Regions from separate parts of the Homo sapiens genome. Here region 1 is linked to region 2. Evidence: promoter capture Hi-C in 16 types of primary human blood cells and fetal thymus (Javierre and others, 2016). All regions are on one chromosome and are shown on one strand. Each heading gives the region's core, a stretch centred on a gene start or on the middle of the fragment in contact. The rest is flanking DNA. Distances are from core to core; before and after follow the strand shown. Region 1 overlaps LOC101928146 (a long non-coding RNA gene). Region 2 holds the start of TMEM14B (transmembrane protein 14B).

Evidence for each region. Contacts are between HindIII fragments. The CHiCAGO score rates a contact against its expected background, and 5 or more counts as called.
Region 1: a contact is called between a fragment that was not itself captured here and the fragment with the promoter of TMEM14B in region 2, in 3 of 17 cell types (total B cells, erythroblasts and naive B cells). The highest score is 6.4, in total B cells.

Annotation. Positions count from the first base shown.
Region 1 is chr6:10,510,836-10,516,555 of GRCh38, forward strand. All of the region lies in intron 1 of LOC101928146 (a long non-coding RNA gene), which reads right to left. It also overlaps the pseudogene LOC100422564. Among named protein-coding and RNA genes, the nearest start is that of GCNT2, 7.7 kb to the right of the region's middle. The HindIII fragment of the contact is 5,689 bases long and covers 1,454-5,720 here.
Region 2 is chr6:10,743,476-10,749,105 of GRCh38, forward strand. It overlaps TMEM14B (transmembrane protein 14B), which reads left to right and starts at 4,330. Exons shown (of 6, transcript NM_030969.5): 1 at 4,330-4,406. TMEM14B-DT (TMEM14B divergent transcript) reads right to left here and starts at 4,109. Exons shown (of 2, transcript NR_187231.1): 1 at 3,986-4,109; 2 at 1-839. RefSeq lists an enhancer at 3,890-3,939 and silencers at 4,060-4,289, 4,124-4,344, 4,300-4,359. The HindIII fragment of the contact is 12,296 bases long and covers 1,367-5,630 here.

The DNA.
Region 1 (5,720 bases), core at 3,048-5,547, 230 kb before region 2:
ACTATGCGTGAATACTGCTCAGAGTGCATTCTACTTATTAACACATCAACTCACAAAACAGCCCTACTGGTATTATCTTTATTTTACTGACAAAGAAATTAAGACAGATAGGAAAAGTGATTTGCCCAACGTCACACAACTAGGAACTAGCAAAGCCAGGATCTAGACCCACGCAAACCTCTCTTTGAAGCTCATGCTTTGCTACCAAATATCGTGTCATTCTGGCATTCACGAGGAAATCTTGAAAATAAAGCAAAAAGTTGTAAAATGGTATCAAGTCCACAATCGCTGTCTTGATGTAGTGCAAGCACAGTGGTATACAAGGGACATCCGTAGATACAGAGGAGAGGGTCAGCAAACCTTCTCTGGTAAAGGCCAGATGGAAAACATTTTAAGCTTCGGTGGTCAGATGTGGCAACAACTTAGCCCTGCCATTGTAACGTGAAAGCAGCCATAGGCCCTGTGTAAACAAATGAGGACGGCTGTGTTCCAATAAAATTGTATTTATGGACACCGAAATTTGAATTTCATATAATTTTCATGTGTCACAAAACATTTTTCTTCTTTGGATTTTCTCCCAACCATTTTAAAATATAAAACCATTCTAGCTGAGAGATTGTCTAAAAACATGCAGCGAGCCAGACTGGACCCCCCCAGCTGTGGTTTTGCTGATCTCTGGTATAGAGGAAAGAAGGGTGGCTAAACTTAATTCGGTGAGTGCCTACCATAAGCAAGGTGTTGAAAGTGCAGTGACCAGCAGACCGAAATAGTTCTCCATGGGACATTATGTTGAGTGAAATAAGCCAGGCACAGAGAGACAAATATTGCATGATCTCACTCATGTGGAATCCACATAGAAGTAGAGAATAGAACAGTGGTTACCAGAGAATGGGAAGGGAAAGGAGCAGGGGGGTGATGAGAGATGGATCAACAGGTGCCAAGCTATAGATAGAGAGGAAGAATAAGCTCTGGAGTTCTACTGCATAGGAGGAGGATTACAGTTAATAATAATGCATTGTATATTTCAAAATACCTGGAAGAGCAGTTTTTGAATGTTCTGATAACAAACAATAAATGTCTAAGGTGATGGATATGCTAATTACCATGATTTGATCATTACACAATGTATACATGTATTGGAACATCATGCTGCATCCCATAAATACGTATAATTACCACCTGTAAATCATACATTTAAAAATAAAATATTAACTTTTTGTTTTAAAAATAAATAGTCCTCCATGGACTAGTGGTAGAGCAAACAAACAAGCAATTGTAGGAGTACAAGGTTTTATTAGGGCAGGTGAAGGGCTTCTAACCCAGACTTGGAAGAGCAAGGAAGGGTCACCAGGGAAGCAGTGTCACATAGGGACCTGAAAGATGAGTAGGAACTCAAGACAAGGCAGGGGGAGAGAATATTCCAGGTAGATGGCCTATGCAGTGAGAAGAGATAAGCTTGAGGCTAGGCACAGTGGCTCATGCCTATAATCCCTTTGGGGGGTCAAGGAAGGAGGGTCCCTTGAGCCCAGGGGTTCAAGACCAGCCTGGGCAACATAGTGATACCCCGTCTCTACAAAAAAACGATTTTTATTTTTTTATTTTATTTTATTTTTTTTGAGACGGAGTTTCACTCTTGTTGCCCAGGCTGGAGTGCAATGGTGTGATCTTGGCTCACTGCAACTTCCACCTCCCGAGTTCAAGCGATTCTCCTGCCTCAGCCTCCCTAGTAGCTGGGATTACAGGCATGTGCCATCATGCCCAGCTAATTTTGTATTTTTGGTAGAGATGGTGTTTCTCCATGTTGGTCAGGCTGGTATCGAACTCCCAATCTCAGGTGATCTGCCTGCCTCGGCCTCCCAAAGTGCTGGGATTACAGGCATGAGCCACCTCGCCCGGCCCCAAAAAAAATTTTTTTAAGGCTGGGTGAGGTGGCTCACTCCTGTAATCCCAGCACTTTGGGAGGCCTAGGCGGGTGGATCACCTGAGGTCAGGAGTTCAAGACCAGCCTGGCCAACATGGTGAAACCACTTCTCTACTAAAAATACAAAAATTATCTGGGCGTGGTGGTGGGTGCATGTAATCCCAGCTACTTGGGAGGCTGAGGCAGGAGAATTGCTTGAACCTGGGAAGCAGAGGTTGCAGTGAGCTGAGATCGCACCATTGCACTTCAGCCTGAGCAACAAGAGTGAAACTCTGTCTCAAAAAAAAAGAAACAAAATCTTATGTTTAATTAGGCAAGCAATGTGGCTGGCACCTGTAGTCCCAGCTACTCAGGAGACTGAGGCAGGAGGATGGGTTGAGTCCAGGAAGTTGATGTGGCAGTGATTGCACTCCAGCCTGGGCACAGACCCAGACCCCAACTCTAAGATAAGAAGAAGAAGAGTTAGGTTTGAAAACCCCAGGCTGCCATTAACTCATTACTGGATATCAGGCAAGCTAGCATATCTTTGGGCGTAATTTCTTCATGTGCAAAGTGGATATAATGTCAATGCTTACCTCTCAGGCCATCAGTGAGAAAATGGAGACAAAATGTGATAGAATAGTCGTTATGGGTCATTGTCAGTGTTCTTTATTTGTAACTGAATCAATTGGTGAGAATAATCTGCAAGATTCCTTTCAATCCTGAAATACTATAAATTCTTGATCTTTATTTTTAAGTAAAGAGACCCCACTATCGAGGAGTTCTGGGTGCTGTCCACGTAAATGGTGACCTACTTCAGGACAACTGTGATTGCCTGAAGTTGAAGAAATATAGTGTCCCTTGCATTCAAAGGTGACATCAGTGATGGTGATGGTGGCTCTGCATGGGAAAAAGAGGTGCCAAATGAACACACATTCCACCTGTACTCCACATGGGAAAAACACCCTGAGCTGGCAGCTGTGGCCGATTTGCTAGGGTCTTAATTTGTGGTTGACCTAGACAGAGGTGCCCAACTGTGCCTGGCTTTTGTGAAGTGGTCAGCTGGCCCCACTGGCTCATGTTCAAAGAGTCACCTGATTTTTTAAATAGAAGAGCTACCGACTTGTGGTTGATCCTCCTTCTTTTAAGTAAATGGTCATATTGCACTTCTTGCTGCAAATAAGTTGCTAGAGCACATTTCTCAAGTCTGGGCAGGGACCTGCAGACTGACTTCAGCAATGGCATAAAATCAGGTGAATGATGAATCCAGAAAAGACCATAGGAAAAATAAAGGTAGAGGCATTTGGGTTGGTCCTAGGGCTTATGGCCACGTCCATAACTCTTTTATTCCTGTATAGTAACTATTAGGTCCCGCAAAAATATCTTCCATGGGGGAAGATCTCAAACTCTTCAGTCCTTGCAGAAGTGTGTGGCATGATTGTGACAGGCAAGAAAATGTTCTTGGATGAAAATATACCAGTGACGCCATTGAGAAATAATAACCTGCCAGCGATACTTGATCCGAAATCACTGCATAATGGAACCTGTGTCCAAAGACGAAGCCGAGTTCCCTTTGGCCTATGTCATGGTCATCCGCAAAGACTGATACATTTGAAAGACTCTTGAGGGCCATCTACACTCCCCAAAACATCTACTGTGTTCATGTGGATCAGAAGGCCCCAGTCACTTTCAAAGACGCTGTAAGAAAGCTACTGAGCTGCTTCACAAACGTCTCTGTGGCTTCTGAGAGGGAGTCTCTGTTCTACACAGGGATCTCCAGGCTCCAGGCTGACCTGCACTGCCTGAAAGACCTTGTGGCCTCTGAGGTTCCCTGGAAGTACGTCATCAACACCTGTGGGCAAGAATTCCCCTGAAAACCAACAGGGAAATACGTTCAGTATCTGAGGTTACGGAAAAGGAAAAATATCACCCCCGGGGTGCCGCCTCCTCCTCATATTATCAGAAGGACCAAATACATGCACTTGGAGCAGAGATAGCTTGTTTTCCTTCATGCTGTGGACTTGCATGAGAAAAATGCCTCCTCCCCACCATCTGACAATTTACTTTGGCTCTGCCTATGTGGCCCTTACAAGGGAATTTGCTAATTTTGTTCTTCAAAACCTAAGGGCCATTGATTTACTTGAGTGGTCAAAAGATACTGACTCTCCTGATGAGCATTTCTGGGTGACACTCAGTAGGATTCCAGGTATGTGGAACTTGATTTCCAATCTACATAAAGTCTAAACTCTGTGAGTGCACGCACACGTGTGTGTTACACATTGAAAATGGTCTTGATGAAGTTATGTATACCCATCTGTGTTTCTAGACTTAATGAATATCCTGTTGACTGCTTTCCATATGTTTCAATAAATTAATATAAAATATACTTCTGGCCAGGTGCGGTGGCTCATGCCTGTAATCCCACCACTTTGGGAGGCCGAGGTAGGCAGATCACTTGAGGTCAGGAGTTTGAGACCAGCCTGGCCAACATGGTGAAACCCTGTCTCTACTAAAAATACAAAAATCAGCCAGGTGTGGTGGCACTGGCCTGTAATCCCAGCTACTCAGGAGGCCAAGACAGGAGAATCACTTGAACTTGGGAGGTGGAGGCTGCAGGGAGCCAAGATTGCAGCACTGCACTCCAGCCTGGGTGGCACAGCAAGACTCCATCTCAATGAATGAATGAATAAATAAATAAAATAAATTATGCTTCTATGTGTCACTAAATAGACTGTTAGCTTATAGAACATCCTTATTAAATTTCTGCTGTCATTGTATGTTATGTTTTGTTAAATTTTTTGTTGGTACACAGTAGGTATATATATTTATGGGTTACATGAGACGTTTTGAATCAGTCATGAAATGTGAAATAATCACTTCAGGGTAAACGGGGTCTCCATGACCTCAAGCATTTATCCTTTGTGTTACAAACCATCCAATTACACTTTTATTCCTTTTAAAATGTACGATTAAATTATTTTTGACTTATGTTATGCTAGCAAATACTAGGTCTTATTCATTCTTTCTGTTTTTGTACCCATTAACCCTCCCCCTTTCCCTCCATACCCCTACTCCCTTTCCCAGCCTCTGCTCATCATCCTTCTACTCTCTAACTCCATGAGTTCAATTATTTTAACTTTTAGCTCCCACAAACGTGAGAATATGTGAAGTTTGTCTTTCTGAGATCTTTGAATCTCTGATATGACACCCAAAACTTTTTTTTTTTTTTTTTTTTTGAGATGGAGTTTCGCTCTTGTTGCCCAGGCTAGAGTGTAATGCCACAATCTCGGCTCACCACAACCTCCGCCTCCCGGGTTCAAGCGATTCTCCTGCCTCAGCCTCCCGAGTAGCTGGAATTGCAGGCATGCGCTACCACGCCCGGCTAATTTTGTATTTGTAGTAGAGACGGGGTTTCTCTATGTTGGTCAGGCTGGTCTCGAACTCCTGTCCTCAGGTGATTCGCCCACCTCAGCCTCCCAAAGTGCTGGGATTACAGGCTTAAGCCACTGCGCCCAGCCCCCAAAACTCTTTTTTAAGCAATGATAATATGTTGTCTAGAAATTCAGTATCTTCAATATGGATTGGATTATTCATTATAATCTCATTTTCTGTGAATCTATATTACACGCATTTGAAAAGTTTGAGATCTGAGAATGTCAATAAAATTTCTATAAGAACAATATGAAATAATGCAAATTTCTCCAAATGAAAAAAGTTTTAAAAATCCATTAAGAATTTCAAGAATTTGGCCAGGCACGGTGGCTCATGCCTGTAATCCCAGCACTCTGGGAGGCCAAGGCGGGCGGATCACAAGGTCAGG
Region 2 (5,630 bases), core at 3,080-5,579:
TTAAATGTCCAAGAGGCACTAAATACAGTGCATAAAATATACATAAGCATGAAATAGTCATGCTATTCACTTCTGTCCCCAAGTGTCCTCTGTCCAAGAAACACAGTAAAACCCATGGTTGCTCCACAGGCCAACAGGCAAAGCTCAGCTCTTTGCTAGGCTTGCTTGTACCTGCATCTCGGACAGAGCAAGTTTGTGTCATTGGCGTGGGGCACCTTGCCTCTTTGAGTCTCCTTGCTCAAACCTGTCGTCTTCAGCACCACGATCCACAGGAAAGTCAATATCACAGAGAGGGGTGGAGGTTGGGGCAGGTGGGGGATGGTGGCCCCTGAACATTGTATGAGGTAGGCTTTAGGTAGCAGGCATCTTCCACCAGATTTGCACCGTCTCTTGACAGCGTTTACTTATCCCATCTCTTTCCTCTTGCTTTTCACTGTCTCTTTAAATTGATTTAAATAAACTAAGAGATTCAAGCATTTTAATTTGATCTGTGAGCTTTTCTGCTCACTGATCTCTGAGGTAGTATACCTGGAGGCCATCGCATTTCCCACATGATAACAATTCATATCAAAATACGGAATCCATTTGGGGAAGTCAGGTAGATTGCTTCCCTTTTCTTCCTGAGAATGGATAGTCTGCATATAGTCTTAGCCGTCCATGTGTTGAATGATCAACTTTTCTATTTATGTAGAACAGGTTTTAATCACACATACACTCCTTCCTGATACAATTCCCCATGTGTAAGCATCCATCTCCACCTTCCTTGCTCCATTGTTTATCCGACAGCCATGAAGTGAGTGCTCACCATGTGTGCCAGGTGCTATCCTAGATTCTGAGGGCTAAAAGGAAAAACACAACCCTTCTGAAAGACACAGCTTTGGTAAATAAATTAACATATTGAATGCAATGGCCTGGGGCAGTCATGGGCAGCTTGACTGATTAGTGAAATGTTGAGTTTTTGAATGACACAGGGCCCATGATGTCAACTCAATTTTTCATTTTTCTTTTCTTTTTTTTGGAAATGGAGTCTCCCTCTGTCACCCAGGCTGGAGTGCAGTAGAGTGATCTCGGCTTACTACAACCTCTGCCTCCTAGGTTCAAGCGATTCTTCCATCTCAGCCTCCTGAGTAGCTGGGATTACAGGCGTGCACCATCACACCCGGCTATTTTTTTTTTTTTGTATTGTTAGTAGAGACAGCGTTTCACCATGTTGGCCAGGCTAGTCTCGAACTCCTGACCTCAGGTGATCCATGTGCCTCAGCCTCCCAAAGTGATGGGATTACAGGCGTGAGCCACCGCTCACAGCCTATTTCAGATTTTAAAAGACTCTTCACTGCAAGAAACAAATGCAACTCTGGATGTCCTAAGCTTCAACAGAGGACGTGGGGGTAAGTACATGAGAAGGACACAGGTGTATCTGGCTGAGGCCAAGGCAGGAAGAACCAGAGCCAGGGTACAGCCAGGGCAAACTGTACATGTGGCCTTTGTTCTCCTGTCTGCCGACCACCCCTCTCATTTCTCACTCCACATCTACTTGTCCATTCAACACATGTTTACTGAGTACTGGTTATGGGCCAGGCACTGTGCTAAATGCTGCATAAATATCATCACTCCCATGAAACAAACATGCAAAAAAGGGGGAGGTAGGCTCTACGATGATTAAGCCAGTTACAGAGCAGGTTAGCAGGGAATTGTCATGGAAGGAAAGATGCTGTCGGGGGAAATGCAGATGAGTTGAAGTTTTAAATCAGGTGATTAGGGAAGGTCTCTCTGAGAAGTGACATTTGCGTAAAGACAGAAAGGAGGAGAGGGCGTGAACCAGGAGATTGTCTGGGGAGGCGTTCCAGGCAGATGAAGCAGCTGAGGGCAAGAAGGAAACACAAGTGAGGGGGAAAGAGAAGATGCTGATGTCAGGGAGGAGGATGTGTGGGGCTTTGCAAAGCACTGCCTGAGAAAAGGGGTGCCACCAGAGGGTTTTGGGGAGAGAAATGGCACAGTCAGACTTCTAACCCAAGTGCTCTGGTCACTGTGTTGAGAACAGACTAAGAGACAGAAAAAAGACTCTTCACTGCAAGAAACAAATGCAGAGTTAGGACAGCTCTGCCATTTGCTGTGTGACCTTGTAGTCTGTGCCTCAATTTCTTCCATGTGTAAAGCAGGAGATAATCATAGTCGTCACTGCACAGAGTTGGTATGAAGTGTAAGTTAGTTAACATATGTAAAGCGCTTCCAACAGTGGCAGATAATAAGAACTGCATATGCTTCTGCTAATATTTTTATGGCTCCAATGAATATGATCCAGAAGTAGATGGCAGATAGGTTAGGTTAAGAAAATAGGCGGTTTTTTTTTTATGATTTCATTTATTTCTTGGGGAAAGAGTTATTGACCTTGCTCTTCAAACAAACCTATAAAATACTCCCAAAGATGTAGAAATTGGTATTGTAGACACTTGATAGACATGAATTACCTGGGCAGACTGCAACTTGGGATTTGTTTTTGACGTTTTTGTTCAGGGACTTCTTAATTTGTAAAGTCAACACATTCAGGCTCCAAAAATGCTAAACTAATGCTTACATTGAAGCTCAATTCCCTTTCTTCATGAGCTCTTGTGTTGTGGGAGATGATCTCTACTGCTCTTGCTGTGTGAGTACACACCTGTGTGTGTACCTGTGTTTGTCTACCAGACACAATTCTTACTCAAAGCCTCTTTGTGGGAAAAACAAAACAAAACACCCAAACCTACTGATAGGCCTCAGTGACCAAAGACTAGAAACTTAACATTCCCTGACATAATTTTGATTACACCCTTTTGACACATTTGTGTTCCAGGGTTCCGATAATTCAGTGGGCCCCCAGTGAAGAGCTAAGCTATCTCCTAACAACGTTAATGCCAACTAGAAATATTCCCAAACACAAATCATTGATTGTTTTACTCTGGTACTAATTGAAATAGAGCAGAAACCAATTTCTTTAATTTATTTTATGACATGTTTTGATGGACTTTACCTACACAGAAGAGCTATGTGTTCTGGTTGAGGAACGACACTGCAAGAAGCAGCATATGGTAGAATTAAGGACGCAGGCTTTGACATTAGACCTTACTTTAAATAATAGCTCTACCAGTGACCAGGACTGTAGGTAATTTAATTCTCTGAGGTTCAGCCTCTTCAAGTATAAGGTGGGGAAGGGCTCGAGGATCATGGTGGATGATCCTAATTAAGGTTTGAGGCTTGCACCTGCATAGGGAAGAATGAGTCCCTAAAGCCATTCCCTGCTGGTTAAGACAAGTCTCATTAATTGTTCAGGAAAGTCTTCAATTAAATTGAAGGTCTGGCATACTGCAATTCCTGCAAGTTCTTAGTTATTATCAGCTCTGGCTGGTTAGAAGCAGCTATGATAAACACGGGCTTCAATTTAGCTATCTGGAAGGTAGGTGCTGCTGCAAGTGGAAAGTTTGTCTTTAAGAATATGCGCTGCAATTTGCTTTATTCACTGATGATTATATTGATCGGAGTTGTCTATGTTGATACTTGTAGGGGATGAAGGAGAGGGAGAAGTCAACGATGACAGCAAATTTTAGTGTAGAGCAACTGAGCGAATGGTGGTGCAGGAAACACAGAAGAGGAGCGGCTCGGAAGTGGGAATGGAGATAACATCATACTGTGGACATTCGGAATCCACAGAGCTGCGTGGAAATCAGATTTAACTTGCTCTCTCTCCCCATTTAAGATGCTTCTCAAGTAGCCTCACTCCCTAAAACAAACGGATATTTGGCATTGCGCCACATTATTCTGCAGCTGCCATATTTTCTTGCAGGTGGAAGGCAGGCCCTTCCTGGTGTAAACAAACAAGATCGGGCCAGAGTGACAATCCTCCCTGATGGCCCGCACCTGGTTTATACCCTCTATTAATGGGGTCCTTCAAAATCATCAGATGCCCTCCTCCCGCAGCGGTGGCCTCCACCTCTGGCCTGGCCCAGCTTACGTGGTCCAGCTTGTGCAAGATCCAATTCCAACTCCGGGTTTCCGGCTTTTGGCCACTCAGGATTGGACCTGGGACTGGAGCTGGTCGGCCCTGCAGGTGCTGGGCCTGGGGACTGAGGAAGCACAGAGATTCCCCGCCCGGTTCCCCGCCAACGGCGCTAGCCGCGATGCCCCGCCTCACTCCCCGCCCCCGGGATGCAGGGCGCGTGCTGGTAATCCGCGGCTCAAGCCCCGCCCCCACTGTCCCCATTCTCCGCTCACCTCTCTCCAAGGACACTGCGCACGCGCCACGACGTCCCGCCTTTCTCCCCGCCCTGCCGCGGCCCCGGGGCGCAGCGCGCACGCAATCGCGTTTCCGGAGAGACCTGGCTGCTGTGTCCCGCGGCTTGCGCTCCGTAGTGGACTCCGCGGGCCTTCGGCAGGTCGGTGCAGGTCTTTGGAGAGTATTGTTTTTATTTTCTGCCACTTTTAACTTTTAGGGATTATTTAGGAGTTTCACGGCCGTCTGCTTTTCGTCCCCCCGATTCAGCGGGCCTTTATGCCGTGTGGTCGGTGCTTTTCTCCTTGGGTATTTTCTGCTTGTCTTAAAAGAGGCTGTGGATGCTCGGAGCACCTGAGCTCCTGAGGCAAAGGCTTACCCTTGTAGCATAGTGTTGCCTCGTTTCCTGGTGGTTTTGTTGCTCCAGCTCTTTAAAAGCCTCCCTTACTCAGTGCCGCCTCGAGTTAAGAACTGTGGGCAAGATCCCAAGCCCGCTGCCCTTCCCCGTTTTATGGGAAATTAATTCTTTCTTTTTTTGGGGGGTGGGGAGGGGTTCTCGCTGTGTCGCCCAGCCTGGAGTGCAGTAGCCTGAATATGTCTTATTGCAGCCTCTGCCTCCTGGGCTCAAGCCATCCTCCCACCTCAGCCTCCCAAGTAGCTGGGATTACAGGTGCATGCCATCATGCCCGATTTGTGTGTGTGTGTGTGTGTTTTAATAGAATATGGGTTTCACCATGTTGACCAAGCTGTTCTCGAACTCCTAACCTCAGGTAATCCGCCTGCCTGGGCCTCCCAAAGTACTGGGATTACAGGCGTGAGCCACTTTGCCTGGCCTAATTCTTTAAACAGAATAAACGGCGTATGCATTGCTTTCCATCTTGTTAGGTTCACTGCATACAGAATACTTTTCTGTAAGAAAATAGGAGCTGTTTTTCCAAGGGTGCAATGTCACATGTGATTCTGACTTGAGTTTCCGTGTATTTTACCCTCCCCTTCTGCCCTCCTAACGAGAACTGTGAGTTGGATGCAGAAGTTTCTAAAAAAAAAAATTGAGTATTGAAATTGGCTGTTGCATCAGTGAAGAAAAGCAACATCCCTACCACCCCTCAAAAGAGACATTAAAGTAGTTGGATTAAGGGCACGGGAGTATTTGCTTTCCGATTTAGTGATAATGTGAGTGCTTAATGAAATGACTAACACATTCCCTGATTATAGAGCTGGTCAGTGGATCTTGCTGAGTTTCCTGTGGACCTATGTGAAATGATCGGCATCTGTTCAGGGTTTACTAGGTGCTAAGCACCTTTACATGTGACATCCATTGAATGCTCACAACACCCCCAGGAAATTGGTACCAGTGTTATCCTCATGGTACAGTGAAGGATACTGA